Linked DNA regions of Homo sapiens: regions 2 and 3 are each linked to region 1. The links are contacts of gene promoters, found by promoter capture Hi-C in blood cells and fetal thymus (Javierre and others, 2016). All regions are on one chromosome and are shown on one strand. Each heading gives the region's core, a stretch centred on a gene start or on the middle of the fragment in contact. The rest is flanking DNA. Distances are from core to core; before and after follow the strand shown. Region 1 holds the start of TMEM131 (transmembrane protein 131). Region 2 overlaps LIPT1 (lipoyltransferase 1). Region 3 holds the start of C2orf15 (chromosome 2 open reading frame 15).

Evidence for each region. Contacts are between HindIII fragments. The CHiCAGO score rates a contact against its expected background, and 5 or more counts as called.
Region 2: a contact is called between a fragment that was not itself captured here and the fragment with the promoter of TMEM131 in region 1, in 1 of 17 cell types (total CD8 T cells). The highest score is 6.3, in total CD8 T cells.
Region 3: the fragment with the promoter of C2orf15 here is called in contact with the fragment with the promoter of TMEM131 in region 1 in 1 of 17 cell types (non-activated CD4 T cells); the score reaches 6.3 in non-activated CD4 T cells.

Annotation. Positions count from the first base shown.
Region 1 is chr2:97,994,309-97,997,715 of GRCh38, forward strand. It overlaps TMEM131 (transmembrane protein 131), which reads right to left and starts at 1,640. Exons shown (of 41, transcript NM_015348.2): 1 at 1,168-1,640. The coding sequence starts at 1,354. LOC124905591 (a long non-coding RNA gene) reads left to right here and starts at 3,335. Exons shown (of 2, transcript XR_007087148.1): 1 at 3,335-3,407. RefSeq lists silencers at 930-1,489, 1,600-1,849 and enhancers at 1,386-1,899, 2,070-2,349. The HindIII fragment of the contact is 7,821 bases long and covers 1-3,407 here.
Region 2 is chr2:99,157,511-99,160,917 of GRCh38, forward strand. All of the region lies in intron 1 of LIPT1 (lipoyltransferase 1), which reads left to right. Among named protein-coding and RNA genes, the nearest start is that of LIPT1, 4.2 kb to the left of the region's middle. The HindIII fragment of the contact is 3,184 bases long and covers 143-3,326 here.
Region 3 is chr2:99,140,090-99,143,496 of GRCh38, forward strand. It overlaps C2orf15 (chromosome 2 open reading frame 15), which reads left to right and starts at 1,618. Exons shown (of 4, transcript NM_144706.4): 1 at 1,618-1,848; 2 at 2,196-2,312. All of the region lies in intron 1 of TSGA10 (testis specific 10), which reads right to left. RefSeq lists silencers at 878-947, 1,018-1,327 and an enhancer at 1,549-2,355. The HindIII fragment of the contact is 4,390 bases long and covers 1-3,407 here.

The DNA.
Region 1 (3,407 bases), core at 390-2,889:
ACGACAATTCTTTGAATAATTTCCACCAATGTTAACTCAGACTAAGGTTGCTTAGAGAGTTAGATAAGGGAATGTAATGTGGACAAAAATAAAAGAAACAGTATACTGAAGCACATTTGCACTTTAATACTAATTTGGTTTGTATTTGCTTTCACCTTCAGCAACAATAAAAAGCAAGTGACTTTAGTCATAAAGTAGAATGTTAACTCTAAAATTACCGTGGCAAGAAATTGTTTTCTTGTACAGGCAGTTTCATGTGCAATGCTAAACTAACAAGTTTTGCGTGGTTTGTTTTTTTTTTAAACTATTCACTTAGTCAATTCTTCATGAAGGCTCTGTGACCATTCACATGTCCCTTGGCTCAAAAAGAGGTAGTGTAGATGAAATTACACTGATTTGGTCTTCAAGATTACAAAATAATTTTTGACCCTGTCCAAGTACCCGTTTTGCAGCAGTACAATACTAATGAGATTTTTAAAATAGGGGCCAGCCCTTAACTGTAAATTATAGATAAATGCTTGCAAGCTGGCAACTTCACGTTTATTTTTAAAGGCTTTCACATCAAAGATAAAGGCACCGAATCACGTATTTTAAAATAAGAAATGTAAACAGGCTTTCAACAGCTTACTAAAGAGTTAAATGGAATTGTATTTAGGTCTAATAATAAAGTTATCAATAACGCAGAGACACTAAAGGAGGAAGCTACAGGACCAAGATTTCCCCTCGAAGAAATGTCTGAACAAATTCAAAGTGAAATTTTTTAAGCTGTGTCTCGCTATTTTTACCACATTTTAAAGTAAGCTCTGTCTGCATGCAACCAACCGCAACCAAGAAAACAGAAGTGTCCTAAAATGTACCTATTCGCCGCAATAAAGCCAAAAAATATGCCCCTCCTACCTAGCGGGCCAAGTGGCAAGAACGTACGAGAAGTCAGGAAGTTTTGAAATGGCAGTGACAGGAGACGGGGGAAGGCACGGGAAGGAATCACGGAGAGCGAAGGCCACTCCGTGCGGCGGGCGCCGCGAGGTCCCGGCTCGGGACGGTACCCGACCGCCCAACTTTGCGCCGGAGCCCCGGCCGCGGCCCTTCCTCCCGGCCCAGCCCTCCCGGCCTCCGCGAGAGCGGGGTGACAGCCCCGCCGCAGGGACGCCGCCGGGGGACACCCACCTTCCTTCTCGGCCCGCGCCGCAGCCACTACGAGGGTCATCACCAGGTGCAGCGCGCCTAGGAGGCCGGCGGCCGCGCTCCGCGGGCCCCCGCTACGGGCGGCCGCAGGTTCCAGCCCGGCCCCGGCGGACGTGGAGACGGCGGCGGTGGTGGCTCCGGTTGCTCCTCCTCCCGCCCGCTTCCCCATCCCTGCCGGCCGGGGGCCGCCGCGCTCGAGGTCCGGCGCGGCCCTTCTCGGCGAGGCGGCGGCGGCGCGGAAGCCGTGGTCCGGGCTCTGGCCGCGGCGCCGGGAGCGACAACGGTTGCGAGCCCGGGGCTCGATCTCCGAGCGTGGGCCTGGGTCCGTGCGTGCGTGTGAGCGAGAGTGTCAGTCACGGTCTTTGCCTGGGCATCGCCTACAAGCAGTCGGAGCGGAGAGGCCGCGGGTCAGGCGCGGCGGGCGGCCATACTGGAAACGGGCACGGCCCGCGAGCCCTGAGCGCTGGCCTGCGAGGGGCGGGGCGCGGCTCTGGGCACCGCCCACGCTGTGCCGACACCTGGGCTGTCCGGCGGTCAGTCTGTCCGCCCCGGAGCCCCCTGGGCCCCACCTCCTCGTCCCGCTCTCGGAGGCCTGCGGCTTCACGGCCAGACAGAACCAGGACAGAACAACCCCAGCCCGTTACCGCTACCTGGCGCAGGAGAAGGAGGGAGGCAGGCCCAGGTCCAGCTGCCAGGACTTATGATGGCGGCTTCTGCTTCGCGGAGGCGGTGTCGGCAATCACGTGGAGACGGGGCGGCCTCGCCGCGCAGCCGCCGCGTTGCGTGGGCGGGGCAGGGGCGGAGTTGCGGGGCGCTAACCTCTTCTCCGGCGCCTGGGCAATCCTCCGTGCTCTGTCCTACAGTGGTAGAGCCTTCCAGGGGTGTGAGTGCGCATACAGACCGCGAGACGAGCGCGGAAGGTCCGTTCCAGTGACTCTTCCTGGTGGCACCCCCACCTCTCGACCGCTTTGACGTCGAGAATACCCCGGGCCTGACTCAGTTCTTGATGGTGCTTCCTTGAGGATGGTGGCCCGCTGAACTCATCCTTGGGTCTTCCAAATCATGGTACCCAGGAGGAGCTTGATGGAGTCCTCTTGCCTTGGCTTGTGCCCACATTGGCGCGGAACACCTCGTGTGCAGAAAGCGTCGGTGACTCTGGATGGAGAAGGCAGGGGCAAACAGACTGCTCTTTAGAATATCCAGTAGCCGGCTTCCTCTCTCGAGGAAGAATTCTTTTTTTTCTTTTCTTTATTTTTTAATTATTTATTTATTTTTGAGACAGGGTCTGGTTCTGCCGCCCAGGCTGGAGTGCAGTGGTGCGGTCTGGGACTACAGGCACCCGCCACCACGCCACGCCAATTTTTCTTTTTCTTTTAAGAAACGCTGTCTCACTATGTTGGCCGAGCAGGTCTCGAACTCCTGGGCTCAAGCAGTCCGCCTTCCTCGGCCTTCCAGAGTGCTGGGATCACAGGCGTGAGCCACTGTGCTGGGCCCGGAAAAATTCTTAAGACGTCTGTTACCTTCACGAGCCATCTCGCGCCTCTTAGATGCCCTTTTCATCTTAGGTTGAGCTTCTTGGTGCGCATGGCTGTTGTCTCCAAGACTTAATTTAAGCTCTTGGAGGGGGTCCTTCTTTACTCATCTTAGTAACTTCCTCCCAGCTTGTAGCCCAGAGACATTTTACTTTCCTTAGCTGTATTTGTTGAGTGAGTCGATATATGTGTAAGGCCAAGTCTGCCCACAGTACGTCTCAGAACAAGCTAGATAGGAAAATAAGGTTTCAGAAAGACAAAAGGAACTCCAGAATCTACTCTATGAAGTAGTCCCCTGTGTCAAGCAAGCACTTAAATTTATTCATAAATTAATATATATTTAAATATGACCTTAGCCTAATGATTTTAAAAAGCAATTTTAGGGCAGGGCGCAGTGGCTCACGCCTGTAATCCCAGCACTTTGGTAGGCCAAGGTGGGCGGATCACCTGAGGTCAGGAGTTCGAGACCAGCCTGGCCAACATGGTGAAAACCCGTCTCTACTAAAAAATATAAAAATTAGCCGGGCGTGGTAGTGCATGCCTGTAATCCCAGCTACTCCGGAGGCAGGAAAAACGCTTGAACCCGGCAGGTGGAGGTTGCAGTGAGCCAAGATAGCGCCACTGCACTATACCCTCGACAAGAGCAAAACTCCGTCTCAAAAAATTAATCATAAGCAATTTTACTTTTTT
Region 2 (3,407 bases), core at 485-2,984, 1.2 Mb after region 1:
GGCCTCCTATTTACTCAGTACATCTGGTTCTTACCAAGATCACTGATAACCTTCTTGATACTGTTTAATAGATCCTTTTCAACCCTCATCTTATTTGCTCAATCTTTGGCATTTGGCACTGTTGACCATCTTGTCTCCTTGAAGCTTCCATAATAGCATATTTAAAATTTTTCTGCCTTTTCTTCTATCCTCAGCTTCCTTTGGGAGCTCTCCCTCCTTCTTCTGTATGTCCGTTAAATGTTGCTGCTCTTCAGTCTTATGTCGCAGGCCCTTAAATCTTCTCACTGAACCACCTTCCTGTGGCCTCAGTTACCATCCATTGAGCTCTGTGCCGTTGGCCGCTAGTTCAACAGTCAAAATGAACCAATTATCTTAACCCCATACTTCCTCTTCCTATAAAATCTGTCCTAGGAAATTTCACCTCTTTGCCAGGCCAGAAATCAGGGCATAATATTAATAAAATAGTTAGCACATATTGTGTACTTTCTTCAGTGCCAGGCACTCTTCTAACCACTTTATATGTATTAGCTCATCAGACTCAGCCTGATAATATGAGATGAGTCCTGTCATTATCCACATATTAGATAACAAATCTGAGACATAGAAAAGTAATCTGCCTTAGGTCATTCAACTGATAAAGGATAGAGTTGGGATTTGAATGAGGGCACTCTGGTTTGAGCTTGTAATCATTATATCATAAAGGACATGATGCTTGACTTCTCTTTCTCTCACCCTAATTCAACCTATTGCCAAGTATTGTACATTCTCCATGCTTAAAATCTCTAGGCGGTGTCCCTGAAGTATAAATCCAAAGCCTTCATGCCTGTAATCCGAGTGCTTTAGGAGGCCAAGGCAGGAGGACTGCTTGAGCCCAGGAGTTTGAGACCAGCCTGGACAACAAAGTGAGATTCATCTCTACAAAAAAAAAAAAAAAAAAAAAATAGCCAGGCGTGGTGGCACATGCTGGCTAAAGGGGGAGGATTGCTTGAGCCCAGGAGGTCGGGGCTGCAGTGAGCCGTGATCACACCACTGCACTCCATCCTGGGCAATAAAGTTCAAGCATTTCACTTGGATTTAAGGTTCTTTATAATCTAACATCTACTTCTCTTGCCTTCTTATTAACTCCCCATTCTTGTATTCCTAATAACCAGCCAGTAGAATTAAATTATTTGCATGGGTCCTATCTCCTTTTCCACTAAGCTGTTGCACATTGTTAGAATTCTTTTCTTTATCCCTTTTATGTCTCAGCTTCAATGTCACATCCACTAATTAGAGCATTAGATGGCGCTCTACTGTACTTAACACCTATCACAGCATTTAGGACACTGTATTTTAATTATTGCCTTACTTGTTTTTTAGTATCTCCCACTAGATTGTGGAGGTACTTGTTTCTTGAAGGCAAGGACAGGTTCACCTTCTTTTCTTTTTTTTTCTTTTAGACGGAGTCTTGCTCTGTCGCCCAGGCTGGAGTGTAGTGGCACGATCTCGGCTCACTGCAAGCTCCGCCTCCCGGGTTCACACCACTCTTCTGCCTCAGCCTCCAGAGCTGCTGGGACTACAGGCGCCCGCCACCATGCCCGGCTAATTTTTTGTATTTTTAGTAGAGACGGGGTTTCACTGTGTTAGCCAGGATGGTCTCAATCTCCTGACCTCGTGATCCGCCTGCCTCGGCCTCCCAGAGCTGCTGGTACTACAGGCACCTGCCACCATGCCCGGCTAATTTTTTGTATTTTTAGTAGAGACGGGGTTTCACTGTGTTAGCCAGGATGGTCTCGATCTCCTGACCTCGTGATCCGCCTGCCTCGGCCTCCCAGAGTCCTGGGATTACAGGCATGAGCCACTGCGCCCGGCCAGTTCACCTTCTTAATGTCACTCATATCCATCCCCTTCTCTCTCTCTCTCTCTCCTACCGTACTTTAGGCCCTCATTATCTCTAGCATGGACAACTGCCTTAGTCCATTAACTGTTCCCCCTGTCCCTAGTCCATCCTTTATTTAATCCATACTCAACCCTGCAGAGGCAGATTCGTATAACAGCTGAGTTAACACTTCCTGCTTAACACTTCAGTGGATCTTAGCTGCCTTTTAAAAAGTCCAAATATTTTGGTTCATTACATGAATTTATCTCCTCCCATTTTCTATCTCCTTATTACCTTGTACCTAGTAGGAACTCCATAAATACTTGTTGAATGAATATGGTACTGTGTCAAAGTCAGTCAAGCAGAACCAAGAACAAAGAGGTTAACCAAAGTAATGCAGTCTCGGTTGCGAGGCTTCCTAGGACAGTATAGCCATAGGCTTAAGTGGAAGTCGAAGACTAGTAGTGTAACTCTTTCTCTTAGGAGGGAATCCCCAAACATACCTTACTATTAGATGACTCTTTGTCTTTGCATATGCCTGGAATATGCTCCTCGACCTGGCAAACTTATCAGATTTGGTGACTCAGTTCAAGTATTCCTTCCTCTATTAAACCTCTCCACACCTTTCTAGACAGAATGTAAACTGATTCAACTTTTTGTAGGTTAGTTTATAAACTACAACAAGAGTGATGAAAATATGAAGACTCTTTAATCTAGAATTGTACTTCTAAGATATTACTTAACTAAATGATTTGGGGCCAGGTGTAGTGGCCCATGCCTATAATCCCAGCACTTTGGGAGGCTGAGGCAGGAGGATCACTGAAGCCCAGGAGTTCAAGATCAACCTAGGCAACGTAGGGAGACCCCCATCTCTACAAAAAATTTAAAAATTAGCCAGGCATGGTGGCGCATACCTGTAGTCCCAGCTGCTTCAGAGGCTGAGATGTGGAGATTGCTTGAGCCCAGGAGGTCGAGGCTGCAGTGAGACAATTACAGAGTGATACCCTGTCTTAAAAATAAAAAATAAAAAAGCCTAGCTACCTAGTTATGAACTTTCTTTATTTAGAACCAAACTCTTAACCTCAAGTTATACACTTTAATAATCCATTCTATTCCCAGTTCTTCAACCTGAAGGAAAATTATATTCTAAGAAATAGAATTGGAATAGAATGATTTAAGACCATAAGTAATCAAAATACTTCATTTTCATAGCTAGTATTTTCAACCTTTTGCTGCCTAATATTTCATTAGCAATGGTAACATGAATAATGTGGAAAGCATCCAAACATAGTGAATTTATTCTTAGCCTTTGTATATAAACCTGCATACTCCCAGTTGCCTCTCTCTCTGACCTCAAGGGTTCATCCTAAGTTAATATTGATCTAAATAAAAGTTATGCTGCCAGTAAATCATATATCCCAAAGTCAAACAGGAAATTATTTTTAAAGTGTTATAAAGACATAATGAAAGCTTTCCACGGAAATGTTCATGAACACATCGTTGATAACCAGAAAAACTAGAAGCCACCTAAAATTACAGACTAAGAGAC
Region 3 (3,407 bases), core at 368-2,867, 1.1 Mb after region 1:
GTACGCGAGATATTGTGGAAGCTGCCATTAAATAATGCCAAAGTTTAGGATTTAAAATTAATATTTAATTAATGTACCGTCCTAGTTATTTCCCACTAATTAAGACTGAAGAGTTTGGCTCATTAATCAATTAAAATACAAACAAGAATCTGTCTTATCCTGGAAGCAGATTCGAATGCGACATCCTACTTCTATAACTAACCTGTTTTTTTCTACTTACAAACCTATTGTTATTCTACTTATGTCCTTACACGTAAACAAAGTATACTTGAAATGCTGAACACCAGTACAGAAAATTTTAAACAAGGAAATCTCCTAGGATATAAGGTCCTGGAATGGAAGAAGGAAAACGTTGGGACACTATAATCTATGCAAACTTTCCCGAAGCTGCGAAAAAAAAAAAGTGAAAAAAAACCATATTTCTGTGAGTTTTTAGGTATCAAGTCCATGATCACCTAGTTATCCAATTTAAGTCTCAAATAGTTTTTCAACAAAAGCCAGCTTTCCCTGCCTTTACTGTGTATAATTTTTACTAAAATTATCTGAGATTTTCATGCAAATGCCTATGTAATCTCAGCCTTTCACCACCCCAAGTCTAGAAAGAGGCTCAGAAATGAGCGATCGGGAGTCAGGCTGAACTCCCAAATCTGTGACTTCCAAATTCCTCGGCTCCACCAGAGCTTCCAGAGCGTTTCTAAACTGAACAGTCTCCCCAACAACCAAGCGGAGAGCTGCGGGAGGACGCGAAGCAGTGACCATAGGAACTGGGCTCAAACCTAACCTCCCAAGAAACAGGGGCAACTCGTGCTGCCGAGCTTCCGGCCGGCAGCTGTGCCCGCCGCTGCCCCTCACAGCCGCTCCCGCTGCTAGCGCCCAACTCCGCCCGCCACGGCCCCGCACCCGCCACTCCTGCCCGCTTGCAGCCGCCTTCTCAGAGACCTTCCAGTCCAGTAGCAGCACTCTCCCCACCCCGCGCACCTCCGCAGCTTCTACCTGGAGCTCCGGGTCCCTCCCCGGGCTCCTCGGCCCGCCGTCCTGCCCAGAGCTCATCCCCGCGACTGTCAGCTCTCGGCCTCAGCGGGGGATACAAGAACCGCCCACTCTCCATCCTCCGCCCCTTTCTCCTCCCTTCCCACCCCCAAATCGTCCTGGCCCCGCCCCGGCGGATCGGAGGAAGGACGGAGCCCGCGGGAAGGAGGAGGGGGCGGTTAGCGCCAGCCAGTGCCGCCGTGGCCCCGCCCTCACGCTCTGTACCGGAGTGGGGCTCGTCTTCCACCTCCCCGGCGCCCCAGCTTTGCTTCCGTCCCGCTCGCCCCCAGGCCCGGTGCGCACGCGTACCTGGCTCGACCTTCCTTCTCGCGGGGTCTACAAGCCGTGCGCGCGCTCCTACGCACGGAGCGACGCGTACGTCTACCTGCCTGCCTTACAGGGCACCTAGGAGGGACCCCTTCCTGGCCCATCCGCGCCGCGCAGGCGCACGCCCACGCAGCGCCTAGACGCCCGAGCCGAGCGTCCCGTCTCCTAGTAACCAGCCGCTAGCCCCCTTTTCCACGACTCATTTCTTAATCTCTGCCTGAGGCTGCCGCACCTGGATGGAACGCGCATGCGCAAGGCTGTCTCTCGCAGCCCCGCCTTCCCTCAGCTTGAAACACCTGCTGCTTCGCGGCGGTGGCTTTGTGCCACTTTTCCCAGGGCTTGGGCATCATTCTGGACCCATGTTCGGTGAACCGGTTACTCTCAGAGCTGCTTTCGGGCGCAGCTCCTGCTGCAGCCAGGGCCCGTTTTAAGAGAGGCTTCCAGGTCCAGCCCTCCCGCTGCAGCCTGCAGGGAGCGAGCCGGCCTGTCCCGGTGAGCGTGGGCAGCCTGGAGTCAGGGGAGCCTGGGGACCACGGCCTTGGTCAGCTCTGCACGATCAGGGCTGAATCAGGAAGTGGCAGATCTAGCAACAAAGTCCAGATTCCTGACCGATATTCCTTCTCCACATGCCAGTCCTTTTCCAAATCCCCTCACCTTAAAGTGACAAATGAGCTTTTTAGTGAAAAAGAATGAGCGCTGCATTCTTCTACCAATTTTTTGGAGCCCAGAATGGGGGGGAAAAAAGTCTTCTTAATTTTTCTTAATACCTACCATGTCCCTTCTTAAATAACTCAAGAGCTTCTGGATGATAATGGTGACTTTATCTCCTTTTCCTGCAGATGACATAGACACTAGGTTTTTACAGCAATTCTCTGATGACCTTGATATGGTAGAACGCTGTGTATTTCAAGAGTAAGCTCTCGTTTGAGGAGACTAACAATTCCTGTTTTCGCCAGGTGAGTACTCATTTTTCCCCCCACAAGATATCATTGGCAGGGATAAACAACTTTTGTGTAGAACAAATTTAGTCATAAAAATACATTTAATATAAATGCCATGTTTTTCCAATGTCTTTTCATCGTGTTATTACATGGTCTCATATTTTGTCGCATTTATTTTCAGATATCATATACTTTGTAAGTATAATTAGATACCAAAAAAAATTAAGTGTCCCTGTTATTTTAGATTAAGAGGTTAGAGGACACAAGGAGCACATATCCTCGGAAATGTAATTTTTTAAATGCACAAAATAACAAACTGAGAAGTTATGTTAGAGGGAATAATGTATAATCTCATTTCCTCTTCAGATACTAAGATTATTTTGAATACATTATCTAGCATTATTAAAAACAAATAGGAAAGAATGTTCTAAGTTTAAAACTATCAGCTGGAGTTGAAGACTTCGGGGGTGGGGAGATTATTAATATAGGAAGTAGGAAAGTACTTCCCTTATAGAAAGAATAAGAAAAGTTTAAGCACTTATGTATGCCACCTAGACGGTACTGAAGATTATTTGGAAAGAATATAAGGAAATGATCATTTTAAGGCCAAAAGAGGGTGAAAAGATTTTCCTTTTTTTTCCTATCAAGAACTGTTGACTTTCTCCCCTAACCTGAGAAAGTAAAAATTTCCTTCCCTCTGTGGAAACCCAAGGGGTAGTGAGTGTCCCACCCTGCCCCAACTAAACCTTTTTTTTTTTTTTTTTTTTTTTTTTGAGACAGAGTCTCACTCTGTCGCCCAGGCTGGAGTGCAGTGGCACGATCTCGGCTCACTGCAACCTCCGCCTCCCGGGTTCATGCCATTCTCCTGCCTCAGCCTCCCAAGTAGCTAGGACTACAGGCGCCCACTACTACGCCCAGCTTTTTTTTTGTTTGTTTTTTGTTTTTTGTATTTTTAGTAGAGACAGGGTTTCACTGTGTTAGCCAGGATGGTCTTGATCTCCTGACCTCATGATCCACCCGCCTCAGCCTCCCAAAGTGCTGGGATTACAGGTGTGAGCCACTGCGCCCAGACTTTTTTTTTTTTTCCTTTTTTTTAAGACAGAGTCTCAC